2 separate regions of the Homo sapiens genome follow, and region 2 is linked to region 1. The links are contacts of gene promoters, found by promoter capture Hi-C in blood cells and fetal thymus (Javierre and others, 2016). All regions are on one chromosome and are shown on one strand. Each heading gives the region's core, a stretch centred on a gene start or on the middle of the fragment in contact. The rest is flanking DNA. Distances are from core to core; before and after follow the strand shown.

Region 1 (7,819 bases), core at 3,035-5,534:
ACAGTAGGTTGAAAGTAAACAATAATAACATAGTGATTATAAAGACAAAAAAAACAGAATGTGGGTCACTTCAATTCTGTCATTCTGTGTGACCAATTGTAGTTTTATGTGTGCTTAAAATCTAAAACAGTGAAACAATGAAAATTGAAAGGTGTAATACTTCTATTTAGTGAGTGCACATTGTAGTTTATACATGAGTTAAATTTTGAATTTGAATATCTTTACCATTAAAATGTATTGTTTTCCTCGGTAATTGAAAATAAAAGAATAAATCAAGAAAATAATAAATAGTACTGATTATTACTGAAAATAATTTTTTCATATATAAGACTATTAAAAATGATCCATTCTAGATATTACAGATAAACAGTAGGTGTACCACAACACTGAAGTGCTAATAATACACTTAATCTTCTTCTCCAGAATTCCAGAAAGCAGGGTATTAATTTATTGGTAATCCACATAGAACCAAGTCTCAATTAGCCCTACCATGGTCAGAAGTCCAAAAGCAGATCACTCGAACATTGACTTAGATATGAAATGCCCCTCCATGTATAGACCCACTCTATGTTCTTTCTAGCCCCACTCTTAGCGATCTGAGGGTCCGAGCAGGTGATCAGAAAGGAGAAAGACACGTATCATCTATAAACAATGATGTCAGTCATTTCATATAGATCATCTCCACCATTATCACCCTGATCCAAGCAACCATCACGTCTAACCTGGGCCTCCTCACAGTTCTCGTCCTTGTCCCACTACAATTTAGCCTCCTGTTAAAATTTAAGTCAGATCATGTCCCTCATCTGTTCAAAACCTTTCAATGGCTCCCAATCTCACTCAGAATAATGCCCTATAAAAGTGGCTGTTTTCTCTCTGATTTCATCTATCCTTCTTCCATGTACTAATTCTTTATCCCAAGGACATTGGCCTCCTTGCTGTTCTTTAAACAAACCAGTTGTGTTCTTTCTGGATGTTCTTTATGCCTAAAATCCTCTTCTCCTAAACATATACACAGAGCTTGTTCCTGCACTTCCTTCACATCTTTGCTCAAATGCCCCTTAACTAGTGAGGCTTTGATGGATCTAATATACCATCCAACTTCCCATGTGTCTCTATGCTCTTAACAGGTTTTATTTTTTTTCCTAGTGATTACCACCTCCTGACATAGTGTATATTCATTTCTGTTATGGTTTAATGAACTTCACAACCCCTAGAATATAAGCTCCATGAAAGTGAGGAATTTTTTTTCATTGTGATCTCCCCTGAACTTAGATCAGTGTCATTTCATAGCAGATCCCCTACATTTGTGTTGAATAAATTAATGACCCGATAGTACCTATAAAAAGGCACTTTATCCCCATTTTATGTAAGAGAATACTGAGAATAAAGTAGGTTCGACAATTGGTAATAGTTTCAGGACTGAGAAACATAAAAGCCGGGTCCTAAACCTCTGATTTGTTACTCTGAGAACAGTGTTCTTTCCAATTTAGGCATACTGGCTAACCCAGCACAAACTGGCATTGCAGAAAGAAGCCAAGAATAAATAACAATTTACCGTCCAGTGTGAACTCACAGTTTAGCATCCTGTATCTATGAGACAGATTTTATTCTGTAAAATCTTGAACAATGTTTTATGTTCAAGGCCCACGATTTACATGTAACACTTGAAATAAGTTACTACAGTCAAATGTACTAAAAAGAAATCTCACTGTTATAAAAAGCTCAGTTTGTACTTCGGGCACCTTGCAAACGAAAGAACAAGGAGCAAAGATCTTTCAGCTAGCCACGTTATAAAATGGTGGCTAGATACACAATCCCTATTTGTTCGTAATGAGCCACTAGTTAAATTTTATCCAACACATACTTCTAGGAATCTGAGAATCTAAGGCCTAGAAGGAATTTTGGTGCTTATTAACATCCGCATTTAATAGGTAAGAAATCTGAGGCCCAAAGGATTTCTGTTAGTGGCAAGGCCAAAACTTAGAGGTTCCCTGCCTCTCAGGCAAGAATAGAGTTTACTACTCCCATCTCTTGAATTCTGGTAAACAGCTAAATAAATGCTTTCATCATATAATATTCATTGTCTCAGTCCTCTAAGAATATTATGAGATTTTTCCCCATCAACCAATCCTTAATTACACAGTCTCCACAAGATGTCTGCCACCCTTTTCTCTCTCATACACTGTTGGCAAAACTTCAAATTTCTTCATTAATTTAACCTGTTGTCAATGAGTGGCTCTGGGCCCCTATACTTCAATATATTTGGGAGAGGAAGTAAGTCTCACCCTGACCCAGTTCCCAGTTGCCAGAAATGCCAGGACTGGCATGGATTTTTTTCGGGTAATTTTTTTTTTTTTTTTTTGAGATGGAGTTTCGCTCTTGTTGCTCAGGCTGGACTGCAACGGCACAATCTCGGCTCACCGCAACCTCCCCCTCCTGGGTTCGAGTGATTCTCCTGCCTCAGCCTCAGGCATGTGCCACTACGTCCAGCTAATTTTGTCTTTTTAGTAGAGACGGGGTTTCTCCACGTTGGTCAGGCTGTTCTTGAGCTCCCGACCTCAGATGATCCACCCGCCTCGGCCTCCCAAAGTGCTGGGATTACAGGCGTGGGCGGCCGCGCCCGGCTTTCAGGTAAATTTAATGGCACTAGATCATCCTGAAGAAAGTCCTTTCCCAAGATCATGACTATGTTCCTTTCTTCCCCTCTCAGCACCATTTGAGCAAATGATTGGTGGAGCAGTGGGGAAGGACTGTGGCAGTCAGGAGACTCAAGTGCTAGACTCAGCTTTGCCTCCAAGGAGTTTGTGGTCCTGGGCAAGTCTCTCCCACTCTCTGGATCCCAGCTTTCCTGGCTGGACAGCAAGGACTCTAAGGTCTTTACCTGCTCTAATCTTTTCTGGTTCTACAAACATTTGATGCAGCTTTAATGGGACCTCAGGGAAGTAGGGAGGTCTGGGAAGAAGGGTCTTTTGAAGCCCCAGCACATAGGCATATGAACCGGATGCCCTTAAGAACCACTGAAACAGAGATCTAACAAAACTCTGAGGAAGGGAAGAGGACAGCCCCTCTGAATATAGTCCTAGCCCACACCAGATTCCCTCTTCCCCTCCACAATGAAAGCAAAAATGGAGTTAAATATCAGTTTTTGCCCAACCACTTCAGGCTACTTTCCTTCATCTGCGGGTTATGGGTGGCAGCGTAGAAGTGTGGGCTATTGCCATCAGTGCCTGCTGACCCAACCTAACTGCCTTCTAAGGCCCTTTTGCTTATGCCTCCCAGCTGAGGACAAAGTCATGGGGGCCTCCCACTCCCCAGAGGCCCTAACCAGGCTTAAGCTGCTCCTGGCTAAGTCAGAGAGGCATCAAAATGCAGCCACCACTTCCTCTCTGCAAAAGGAAGTCATTCCAAGGTCTCCAGGTGGAGAAGGGAACACCATGGCATAAAATGAACTGTTGGAGGATTATACTAAACACACACACAAGCACACACTCCTTGGGAGGGAGAGAAGAGCTCTGTTAACTGACTGTGGCCCAAGCCCATTTCCAGAATGTGGGTTTCTGCAGCTGTCTCTCCTTGACAAAGCCCCAAGTGTGGACAGGGTGACCCCAGCCCGGACAAGGAAGGGCTTTAGGGCTCCCTCAGGCAGCTTCCTGAGAGAGAGAGAGTGGCTCTCTGGCCCTCATGCTCTGGGGCTGACCAGGGAAAGGAGTTGCAGAAAATCTAGTTGGGGGCAGGGGGGAGTCATGCAGCTCTCCCATAAGGCCCCCTCCACAATTCCAGGCTTTGTGACCGTCCCCTCCCCCCACAACCCCGTGCCAGCTTGTCAGCCTCCTGCGAGCTTCACTGCTTCCAGAGAAGCCCTCTGCCATCCCCCTTCCCTCTCTGGCCTCCCAAGTGACCCCTGGGATGTTCCTGGGCACATAATCTGGCCCCCACCCCTATTCCACCTTAATCTCAGAGGGAGATAGAAAAGTGGAGGGGGATGGTAGGGGGGTTTCCTGGGCAGGCAGGCTAGCAGGGACTCCTAAAATGGCCACAGCAAGCTCACTGGTGTCTCAAGGACGGCGGCTAGGGCGGTGGGCAGAGGCCAGGGTGCTCACTGCCTTGTGGCTCGTTGGAGGAACTGGAGGTGGGGCTGGGGGACTGAGAGGCTCAAGCAAGGGAAGCCAAGGTTACATGCACTCACCATTCCCGATCCGCCCCTTATCCACTGCATGGTGCTTGCGAAGTCCGGCTTCTCTGAGGCCCCGTAGCTGGCGCGAGTTGTCGCGGGCTGACTAGAAGGGCTGGGCTGAAGCAAGCGAGAGCCCCAGCGCCCCCTCCGCCGCCCCTCCTCCACAGCCCTACAACCCAATCCCCTCCGCCCCGGACCTCGCCTTCAGTCAGTTTGTTCCATGCCAACCGGCAGGCTCTGTCTCTCCGCCCTGCTGCTCCTAGAGGTCTTGGCAGGGAGAGGTGCGAGTGTGGGGGGGTCCTAATGGGCTGCTTTTGTCCCCCACCAAGGCTTGAGAACTGTGGGGGTGGGGTGCAGGGAGAGGATGGGGGCGAATAGCCTCCGCCCGCCCAGGAGAAGGCAGCTGCTACCTCTGCCTGCCTCCCGCTGCGCTGGAGTTAGATGCTGTTTATTGTGGGGCTTCCCAATTGTGTCGAGTCAGCGGAAAGTCCTTTCCAAAGTTACCAGAGGTGTTGTGCCAATCTCCAGAATAATAAGATCCTGCCCCAGTGGAGCCAAGCCAGCACTCTCATGCCTCCCTCCCCCACCCTCCCTCTGCATACTCCCCTAGGGTCTTCTCTCTTTGTGTACTATCTGAGAGCTTTCATCTGCATTACTTTCACTTCTCAGAACAACCCTGTAGAGGCAGCCATTAGTATCTCCAAGTTATAGATAAATAAATGGAGGTTTGGAAGAGGGAAGGGGCATAAGGTCACATTAAAGAAAAAAAAAAGATAAATCCTCGACTTTACCCTCTGCGGCTTTCCAAGCCTCTTTCGGCTATCTCTCCCTTTCTATCTCACACACACCACTCCAGGCTTCTCCTTCATGCCCTTAGGAACATGAAAGGTAGCTTGTTGATGGACGAATTTTCCATTTGCTTATTTTGCTGAGAATGAGTTGAATGCACATCAGCGAAACAGGCAAACGGAGAAACCACCCACCTCTTTATGATTCCCCCAACTCTGGGGAACACAACACAGGCTGGTACCTTTGCTTAGGCTAAAAATTGACTTTGTCAGTCACACTAACATCTGTTATTATCCCTTATAATCCTCACAGTAACTCTATGAGATGGACACAACAAGGATTCTTAATTGCCCACCATTACAGACTTGAACACTGAAGCCCAGAGATTGAAAGACTTCTGCTTAAAGTAGCACAGCCAAACAAGACAAGAATCCAAGGCTCCTGACTAGAAGAGCAGGTCAGGCAAAGACAGAATTGCAAAAACAGAGGTTGCAACCAAAGTAAAAGGAGTTACAGTATGATATTAGAAAGAAGTTCCTGGAGATAATTGACATGAAGACATCACTGGCCTGTTACACGTACTTTATTTGTCCTCTTCTTTTTAGCACAACTTCTGCACTTCATCCAACCTGTTGTTTTGTCCATGCAGAGCTGGGCAAAGATAGAAGCAGTACCTTAATGAGCACCCCATCATGGGAGGTGTACAAGCAGAAGCTGAATGACCCTTTGGCAAGGGATTCCTGAATCAAATGGGAGGTTGCCCTGGATGACCTTTCAACTTCCCTCCCAAGTCTGGTAACCCAGGCATCAGTGATTCCACAATGTTCTCTCACTTTCCCATCTCTGGGCCTTCTTTCATGCTCAGTATCTTGGATGCACCTCCCCTGCCAACCAGCCCATTCAAACTGTCATGACTGTTCAAGATCTGGCACCAGGCACACCACCTTTAGAAAGCTTTCCAGGAATACCTCCAGGCCCTGATTTTGTCATCTTTCATTTGATTCCTATAGCACTACGATTTCACTGTCTCGATTAAAAATGATCTTTTTATTTCCTGGATGTTACGGGCTGAATTGTTTTCCCCCAAAATTTATATGTTGAAGTCCTTCCAGTACCTCAGAATCTGATGACTCGGAGAAGACAGTCATCTAAACAGCAAGCCAAGGAGAGAGGCCTCAGAAGACCCAACCCCACTGATACCTTGTTCTCAGACTTCTGGCCTCCAGGATTATAAGAAACTCAATTTCTGTTGTTTAAGCCACAGAGTCTGTGGTATTTTGTTATGGCACAGCCCTAGCGAACTAACACAATGGTCATATGAACATTTTACTGTCCCCTTTCACTTAAATGGCATTATGTGTTTTTGAAGCAGTGGCAATGAATTACTAATTTCTGCATCTTCTACAACAGTGACTGGCACATAGTAAATACCCAATAAAAACTTGGAATTTTTTGATGGATGCATTCATTCAACATTATCATTTAGCCCCTGTGTGCCAGGCATTGTGACAGATGCTCAGGATACAAGACAAAGTTCCTCATGGACCTTACAATCTACTTACAGAAGAGAGATAGACAATAAATAAGTAAACAAACAAAAATATTTAGAGATTGTAATATGTGCTCTGAAGGATATAAACCAATTTATGTGATGTGAGTAGCCCTGGAATTGTGGAAAGTATCTGTGCCGGTCATGGTCCAATCAGGAAAATAAAAACCACCCTAGGTCTTTTAAACTGCGAGCATTTAATGCATGACACTTACAGAGCTAACAAGCCAGACAGAGGATGAGGATGCAGCAACCTAGCATTTAACAAACACAGAAAGCTGCTACCACTCGTAGGGATGGACGGATAACAGATGAAGCCATGCAGAAGCTAAAATCATGGGTTGGACAGCCTATTGGAAGCAGGTGCCATGAATGGAAGAGTTGTTCAAGAGGAGCTGGAGCCATGGAGGAATACAGCTACCACCAGAAAACACCTCTCTGATACAGGTGGTGGGAGAAATACCCTGGGTTCTCCCTTCCTCCTAGCCACCAATCTCCTGTACATGTCTCCCATTGGACAAAAGAAGTGAGAAAGCAAGGAAATCTAACAAATGTAATTTTCAGGAGAAGAGTGGAGAATGGATCTGGATGCAAACAGGCCAGTGTTAATATAAAGCCTAGGGACTCCTGCAAAAAACAGGTGCCTAGAGACTCCTGCAAAAAACGTGTTGATCCCAGAGGTGTAAATAGATGCTGTTGAATCCAGTCATTATGTCTTGAGCACCTATTTGCCTAGAACCATATGAGTAGTTAGAGGAGACATAATGTAGTTGGTAGGGCATAATCTCTGAAGTCAGAACAACTTGGATTGTATTCAGTTATTGGCTTTGCCACTTACTTGGGCAGATTATTCAATGTTCTATGCCCTGACAGTTTCTTTATCTGTGAATAGGGCTGACAAGATAGTTACAAAGATTTGATAAATTTGTCCAAGGAAAGTACTTAGCACAGGGCCTGGAAGCCAGTAAGAATTCAGGACAGGACAATAGAAATCTGGAAAAGGGGTTTCCATAATCTCTGTGTTCACTCTCTTGAAGTCCTGTGATCTCCCAGAAGCCTCTTTGGTACCTAGCCAGGCACCAGCTCTCCACTCTAGTAGAGGGCCATGAGCAAAATGAAGAGAAAGACAGTCATGTCCCAGCTTATCTGTGACTCAGGTTCTCCAGTCATACAATGAACACACTAATTGTGTACCTAAGAGTGTTAAAGAATCACTGATCCATAGATATCAGAGTTGGCCTTAATAATTGTAAAGATTATTTCCTCCAACAGTCTCATTTTACTGATGAGAAGATATAGCCCCAGGG
Region 2 (7,819 bases), core at 2,710-5,209, 410 kb after region 1:
TACTGAACCCATTATCCGGGCAGTCTTGTGGCCTGGTACCCAAGCTGAGGCCAGATAGGTAGGGCTGGCTTGAACTGGGCCCCAAGGCAGTGCTTCCTTGGAGACTCTAAAGCACCAAGAAACTGGCATCCTGGCCCTGGGAGAGGCCTACTAGGTGGCCTTCTCTATCCACATTCACTGGTCCTCCAAGGACCAGTCTCATCTGGGAATTCTCAGGATCACAGCTGTCTGGCACTAGGCCTATTGGGTAATAAGATGAAGGCAGCTACTTCCACTAAGTCCCATTTTCCCTTAAAATCACATCCAAAAGCATTATTCCAGGACCTTGCAATGGAGACATGTTGTTCATCTAGTAGTACTCTTGGAGGTGTGGACATGATATCAACAGTTTTAGTGGTCTGGGGTGTATTTGCTGCCACCCAAGCCAGCACTAGTCTGTGTTTGGAAACAGGCCTGAAGCTTGGCTGGCTCTCCCAATGTCACCCTGTGCTGTCAACACCATGGGTCCCCAGACAGGTCTTCCTTCCTCCCCTAGGCTGCCATTGGGTTTCAGCCACAAACTGCTTAGCTCTAGAAATTCAAAGGAACCTGCTTCTGCAGCCACATATCCTGGCTGCCCCACTTCAGGTGGTAAGGATCCTATTCCTGGGCTGGCTAGGGCAGTGAAGGGACTTGCAGGCAGCAAGGCTGTCCAAACCATGAACTCTCACTCAGCCCCAGGCCCTACTCTGTGGTGTGTGACCTTCCAAAGCCCAACAAAGTGTGTCAGGGCTATGCCAGTGCCCCTCAGAGACAATGCCTCATGCTGCCTTCCTGATCCTGAGGGCAGCTCTCAGCCCTTAGCCAAAGGTTGGCCACCTCCTTTTTCTCTTCCCAGATAGGCTGGTGGCCCTTCTCCAGCAGGGTCTGGAGGCTGGTGATGGCTCTACCGCCTGCTGTGGCTGGCACAGTCCACATGTAGACAGGAGCTCAAGCTGCCCTGAAAGAAGAGGCAAGAGGTGGGTTCTTCCCTGTTGTAAAGGCATTTGGTGAGTGTTTACTTCCTGCCAAATAGCCAGGCCAATTTCAGCCCCACCATCCCAGAGCAGCTTTGGTAAGAGGCCAGAAAGTTGGAATTTGGGCACTTCTCTCTTGGAATGCTGTGCTTGGGGTAAGGAGGGCCTTCCTCACCCTCTTTCATTCTCCAGCTCCACAACAGATACATTTCTTCACAATGTATCTGTAGCCAAAGTCAGCCTGAAGAGCTGGTCTGGGTCCCTTGAGTGGTGGTGTTAGTGCCATGCAAATTCATGTGGTGCTTCCAGGGGTGCAGCTTCTACCAGCCAGGTCTGCTATTTGTGAGTAAGGGCACTGGGCCAACCCCAATCTGAGAAATGGTGACAAAGACCAGCATGGACACATCCCCTGGCCAAGAAACAGTTTGCCCACAAAGTCACCTTGACTTAGGGGGCAAACAGCATCTGTTCCCAAGCTAAATTGCCATATCTCAGGAATGGCAAGAACCCTGTTGACTTCTTCTCTCAACAGGCATGGAGATGGTGGGATGTGAGGGCGAGGGTGCAATAATCATAATTTGAGTGAACACAGCCAAGCAAAAAATGTTCCATATGCCATTTCCAATAAAGACATGTAAAAGGAACCCTCTCCTACAGGTGATTAATGAGAGGTTGAGCTTGGCAAGATTAGCCTGTTCCAATGTCTTCCTGACAGCAAGCTCTTCCCCACCAGTATTTCCAACCTAGTTTAACATGAAAACTGCATGGATGCAGGAGAAGGGAGGGTGCCATTCATTCCATAAAGGGCTGCAACTGCCAAGAAGCCCTGTCATTTGATGATGCTAAGGACTCGGCTAATTGGAAGATAAAAGCTCTTTAAAGGGCCCAGAACAGCAGCTGAGATGCCTTTGGTATCCTGTCTTGGGAGTGCAAACCTGGGGCCTTATTACAGAGTCCAAATGATGGGATGGGCAAGGCTTAAGGAACATTTTGTGTTGGGAGGCTTGAGAAGGGAGTTTTCCCTTTTAAGAAACTGAGATACCTTAAGCTCTGCATGGTCTGAAATCCCCTTTCTTGCTGGCTGTGATAAATGGACCCTCATTTTCTATCTTTCCCCTACACTCCACAAAAACCCCAGCCCCTATAGTCAAGCCTAATTTAGGTTGCTTCTCTTCCCTTATCTCAATTAAAAGACCGTGTTCCTTGTGATGAGATTATGAAAATTTCCTTTAGAGGAAAAAAGAACAAAAATTCAAAAGCATCTGCAACTCAGGTAGTCACAAGCTTAAAAGAAGGAAAAAAAATCCTATCATTCCGGAGCTCAACACTCTATGGCAGTGTCCACAACAGAACCTTGTTTTGTCTTCTGTTTGCAAATGGATGAATTTTATCACTCCATCAAGGGGATTAGCATTTTTGTCTTTAACCCAAGCTATGGCAGGACAGTTAAAAGGCCCCCATCTGGTCATGATGCCAAAGTCCACAGCGATAGGCTGTGAGACACACGCTACTTGATCCTCTCTAAGGACAGCTAGCTGGGATGAATAGCTTATAGTCATCTGATATAATGATGGCAGCTATGCCAGGCCAAAAGGAATAGGGGTGGGGAGGATCTGTACCATAATTTCACATTGCTAATAGCAAATAAGCCCCACTTCCCCAAGCGGGAGGCAATGCAGACTTGGCTGCTAATCAGTGGTTCATCATTCATTGGGGGAAAGGGGCAGGGGGCACTAAAGGTTTAGCCTGTGTCAAGGATGCATGCTATATATGTGTGTGCATGTGTGTTTGTGTGTGTGTGTGTATGTATGTGTGTGTGTGTGTGTGTGTGTGTGTGTGTATATATATATATATATATATATATATATATATATATATATATAATCACTAACTTGGCAACTGGAATAGGCACAAAATTACAGCATCCCAAACCCAGCGTGGGTCACAAGAAGAAACCTCGAAAGCAAAAACTGGAGTGCAGTAGCAGCAGCAGCCTCCCTGGGCAGATGCACTTGAGTTGAACGTGGCCATAGATGGCAGAAGAGGCAAGTGGGAAAACCAAGGTGAAAACTCACAGGAGTTTTCCTTGGCCCAAAGGGTTTTCAAGTTAAACAACAACCCCCACCCCCCCACCCTTCTGCCCAACCCCTGATCCCCATTCACATGCTCAGGCCCCGTGTCCCTACTCCAGAATTGATAATAACTACTTGGCTAGGTTTCCATTCATGGCAGTGGAGGAGTAGCTGGTGGCAAGAGAGGCACCTTGCTCAGCCCTCTCCTTTGACAGGTCAAGGCTGGAAGGCCCATAGTGAGTGGGCTGAGGCTGGGGGTGCTCAGGCCGGACCCTGGGCAGCTGAGGAATGCCATGGGTGATGCCCACAGGCTTGGCCTGTGGTAGAGGGCTGGGGCTGAAGCCTCCAGAACTGGAAGAGCAACTGGGCTCATCAACAGGCAGCAGCACATCTCGAGGCCTGGCCCTCATGCTCTGGGAGGCCTGTGGCTGGAGGTTATAGCAAGGGCCCATGGGCAGGTGTAGGTGTGAGGGACGAGCTAGTTGAGGCCCAGATTCCCCAGGTGCCCTTGACTCTGGCACTGATAGTGATATTGACATGGTCATAGGAGGTATGCAACAGGTTGCCTGCCTATATGGAGACTGGCTGGAAGGCCTGTCCAACTGGTTGGGGCTTATCCAGGCAGGACCTGGCCCCACTGGAAGAGGACAGGGAGCCCAAGCAGGCCAATCATAGGCCCCTGGGGGTTCAGTATAGAGGGAAAGGGGACTGTCTCGGCTCCATTCTCCTTCTTCCTCCTCTTCGTCCTCCTCATCTGAATCTTCCTGCTGGGCCTGCAGCTCATCAGACTCGAGGTAGCCCTGGACCAAGTGGGAATTGGAGAGCTCCATCTCCAGGGTCTCTGCAGTGTCGAGAGAGCGGCTTCTCCTGTTGAGGGCCATAGCAGCAGGTGGAGGTCGAGGGTGCAGGCCAGGCAGTCCCAAGTATCGAGGGAGGCTGCTCACACCCCAGGGCAGGCCTTGGTAGAATCGACTATGGTAGTTGTTGAAGGCATGTTTGTGATAGTAGCCCAGCTCAAAGGCTTCCAAGGAGGCTGCAAGATCTTCATCATTGTGGAACTCAGGATTCTCTTCACACTTGCCTTCCCCATCCCGTTCCACATCAGCGATGTCAAAGGTCACCATGGGAGGCAGCTCAGGGAGGTTTTGAGTGAAAGATGAGTCAGAGTCAGAGCTGCAGGACATGCTGGAAAAGAGGTTCCCATTGCTGGTGAACTCTACCAGGGCCTGTGAGAAACTCACAGTGGCATTCCCTTCCTTCTCAACCTCCTCTTCCTCTGGATCTTCAGGGGGTGAATAAGTAGGGTAGGCCCTCCTGGGAGATCCTCCAAAATTTGCTTCTTGCATGTCTGGCTCAAACATGGCATCACTCTGGAAGAGCTGCATCAGGCAGGTACTTTGATCTTTCTTGGAGCAGGTTCCTTCATAACGCTTCTCCAGAGGACGGAAGTCCCTCCAGTCTGGCTCGCTGCTTGCAGTGGTGGGGAAAGCTGAGGTAATTCCCCGGTGGGAAATCTGAGAGGTCCCTGATACCCCTGCTGCCAGGCCCATCACTGATGGGCCTAAGGGCCTCATCTGATACTCTAAGACGGGCTTCTCCTGCCGGGCCTGGGTCTCTCGGACTTGAGTCTCTCTACAACGAACCTCTCGGGCCTGGGCTTCTCGGGTTCTGGCCTCCCTGCCATGAGCTTCCCAAGTGTGGGCCTCCCTGGCATAGGCTTCCCTGCCATAAGCCTCTCGAGTATAGGCCTCCCTGGCGTGGGCCTCCCTGGCATGAGCTTCTCGGGCACGTGCCTCCTGGGCCTCAAGCTGCTCCCGCCGAAGCTCCCAATACAACAACTGTTTCTGGATGGTCACTAGCCGTTCTTCCTCTGTCTCCATTGCCCCAGGTGGCCGGGAGGACAAAAAGGGCTCAAAGTTTAAGAAGGGGTCAAACATCTCAGAGCTTCGACCATGGAGGTCATAAAGGCAGTCATCTCCAGGTGGAGAGTTCTCAAGGCTGTCATCTGGCTCATAGAACTCATATAGGGCATCTCCACTGTAGCTGTCTCGGGGTAGACAATCCCTGCGGACAAGCCCCAGGGCCTCACCTGAATCATCCTCAAATCCAGGTGTGGTGGAGTCATAATAACCTTCATCACTATTGGGGGCGGATTCTTGCTGGTCACTCTGAGGAGTCAAAAGTTCCCCAGGGGCTAGGCCAGGATAAGACCTAACTGGGTCAAGGAGCATGTAGCCGTGGTGGCCTGGGGATGTGGTGGGATGGTAGCCCAGGTTCATATTGGGCCGTGGATACATTTGGGCAGTTTCCCACAGATATTCTAAGTCATCATCTTCTTCCTCCTCCTTAACCTCCTCTTCTTCCTCCTCTAATTCCACCTCTTCTTCCTCTTCTTCCTCCTCGTCATCATCATCTGGCAAGGCCATCTCCTCCCCACCTCCTTGGTAGGTCACCAGGCAGGAACTTCGCTTGGTCCCATCTCGGTTTGCTCTCTGGCCCCCAGAGGCCATGCTGTCTGTCATACTGTCCATGTCCTGTTCTGCTATTATGTCACCACAACCTGTCAATGAATCAAAGCTTTTCAGGGATGTCACATCCCCAAACAAGAGGCTCAGTGGGTCCCCCACAGGGCCATTGGGTGGGTTTACCTCTCCTGCTACTACCTTCTCCCCTGTTTCTGGGCTATGGGGCTCCTCTAGGCTACTGGCTTCAGGGGCAGGCTTGGGTTGCACATGTGCTGAGGCACAGGCCTCCATGGGTTTTTCTGGATCTTTACAGGCCATTTTCTCAGTAGCTGGTGGAGAAGGTTCTGGTGTTGGAGAAACTTTTGGCCCAGGGGCATCTTGGGGGTTAGCATTTTCCTTTCTAGGGGCTTGGAAGGTCTCCTCAAAGCAGGGCACCTGAGGGGCTGAGCTCACGTGCTCATGAGGCCTGGCTCTGACCCTCTCAGGCCCCTTGGCCCCTGGCTCACTTTGCTCAGCCCCAGTGACCTTGCTCTTCCGGTGACGGCGGATACTGCTAAAAAAGCCTTTTAGGCCTTTCTTTGGCTTGGGCATAGAGGGAAACTTCTCAGCCACAGCTTTCTCTGTGGCTCCAGCCACAGATGTCTTACATCTGGAGCCTGTCTCCAAAGCCCCATGGGCACTCTGAGAGCTGGGAAATTGGCAGGGTAACTCAGGCAAAGGCAGGGAGAAGCCAGTTCCTTCACTGACAACATCTTCAGGGCCATGGGCTGCTTCACTCAGGCCATCGTGGGTCTTGCTCTTGCTGAGACCTTTCTTGGAGCTGCCTTTCCCAGAACCTTTGCTCCGTCCCCCTCCAAAGAAACTAGGCAGAGTACAGATACCCTTCTTGCCACCAAAGAGTTTCATGGCAGTTTTCTTCAGCCTACCTGGGCCGGATGAGGATGGCTCTGAGGTTGGTCCTTCTGTCGCCTCAGCTGCCTTGTTCTTGGCTCCTTTTTCTGCTGTTTGTTCACGGGTACTCCCAGAGGCTGCAGCTCCCTTGGCCTGAGCAGCTTCATCCTTTTGGGTCTCCATGATGATGGGGACAACTGAGGTACGTCCAGCTGGAAATGCAGCCTCAGGCTTCCAGGCACTGTTATAACATTATCAGTCAGGAAGCATCACAGTGGGGTCTGGAGGAGATAGGAGAGACAAAGACAGAGAGACAGATACTAGTGAGCAAGCATCCAGGCTGGGTTTGCTTTCACCGGACGTCAGGCTTGAGTGGAACAAGAAAGAAAATGATGGAAAATGTGGGGCAAATCTTAATCCACTCGATATGCTTGGCTTGCTGGGCCAGCTCTCTCTGGGCCCCAAGGAAGCAAAACTCTACACTGAGCAACAAGAAGCCTTCATCCCCTACCTTCTTGCTGGGTCCACTCCCTTCAGACCATCCTAAGCTCAGGGGACCACTGGGCAGGGGGACCTGCAGTTGTGTGAAAGGCCTAGTGGTGCTATTGGCTGTGGGAGGTATTATCAATTATCAAAGGGGATGAGGATAGGGAGAGACAAGAAAGGCAAAAGGGATGTTGGCTCCAACATCACAGAATTTTTGAAAACCATCTGGCAAAACAGTCCATTGAGTCCTCACAGGGCTCTGTTGGATTCAAGCTTCAGTTTCATATTAGTCTGGGCTCTCACTGACATTTTGTCTGAGACTGAAAAGTGGACCTGAAGTTTCACCTCCCATCCAAAGCTTCCTAAATTGCCTGCAGAACCATGCTCAGGCTTCAGAATCTCAGAATAGGAGCCTCACACATCCACAAAGTAGGTCTGCAATCTAGAACCTGCTAAGACAATGAAATGGGAGCCTCAAGAAAGGTACTCTCTGGGCTTCAATATTCGCCATTCAAGAGGCCTATCAATATCTCTCCCTCAGAGAGGTGATATGAGGGTGGGTCTAAGCCAGACCCTCTATTGGCTGTCCTGCTGGGAAGATACTTTAATGCGGTCATCAATGGAACCCCAAATTCCACTTGAGAACCATGAGGTGGACTGTTTCTCCTCTACTCTCCTCCTCTTATTATTTTTGTCCCCATCTAGCTCCCTATCTAGGAAGGGAACTCCTTGAAGGCCCTACATGATTCATATTCCTGGTGTGTGAGATAGGTTCCCAATGGCTTTTTAAATAAATAAACCTGGTGCAAGCCACACCCTTCTGGTCAAGGCTCTCAATCCTCCAAATGCCCAAATACCAACAGAGATGGAATAAAAACAAGACCTAGCCACTACCCACCACAATATACCT

What was found. Contacts are between HindIII fragments. The CHiCAGO score rates a contact against its expected background, and 5 or more counts as called.
Region 2: a fragment that was not itself captured here is called in contact with the fragment with the promoter of ARHGEF9 in region 1 in 1 of 17 cell types (monocytes); the score reaches 5.1 in monocytes.

The regions. Positions count from the first base shown.
Region 1 is chrX:63,780,930-63,788,748 of GRCh38, forward strand. ARHGEF9 (Cdc42 guanine nucleotide exchange factor 9) reads right to left here and starts at 4,285. Exons shown (of 10, transcript NM_001353921.2): 1 at 4,187-4,285. The coding sequence starts at 4,216. It overlaps MIR1468 (microRNA 1468), which reads right to left and starts at 5,158; the gene lies at 5,073-5,158. The HindIII fragment of the contact is 6,142 bases long and covers 1-5,915 here.
Region 2 is chrX:64,186,681-64,194,499 of GRCh38, forward strand. AMER1 (APC membrane recruitment protein 1) reads right to left here. Exons shown (of 2, transcript NM_152424.4): 2 at 1-6,704. The coding sequence starts at 6,606. The coding sequence ends at 3,199. Among named protein-coding and RNA genes, the nearest start is that of AMER1, 15 kb to the right of the region's middle. The HindIII fragment of the contact is 3,365 bases long and covers 2,278-5,642 here.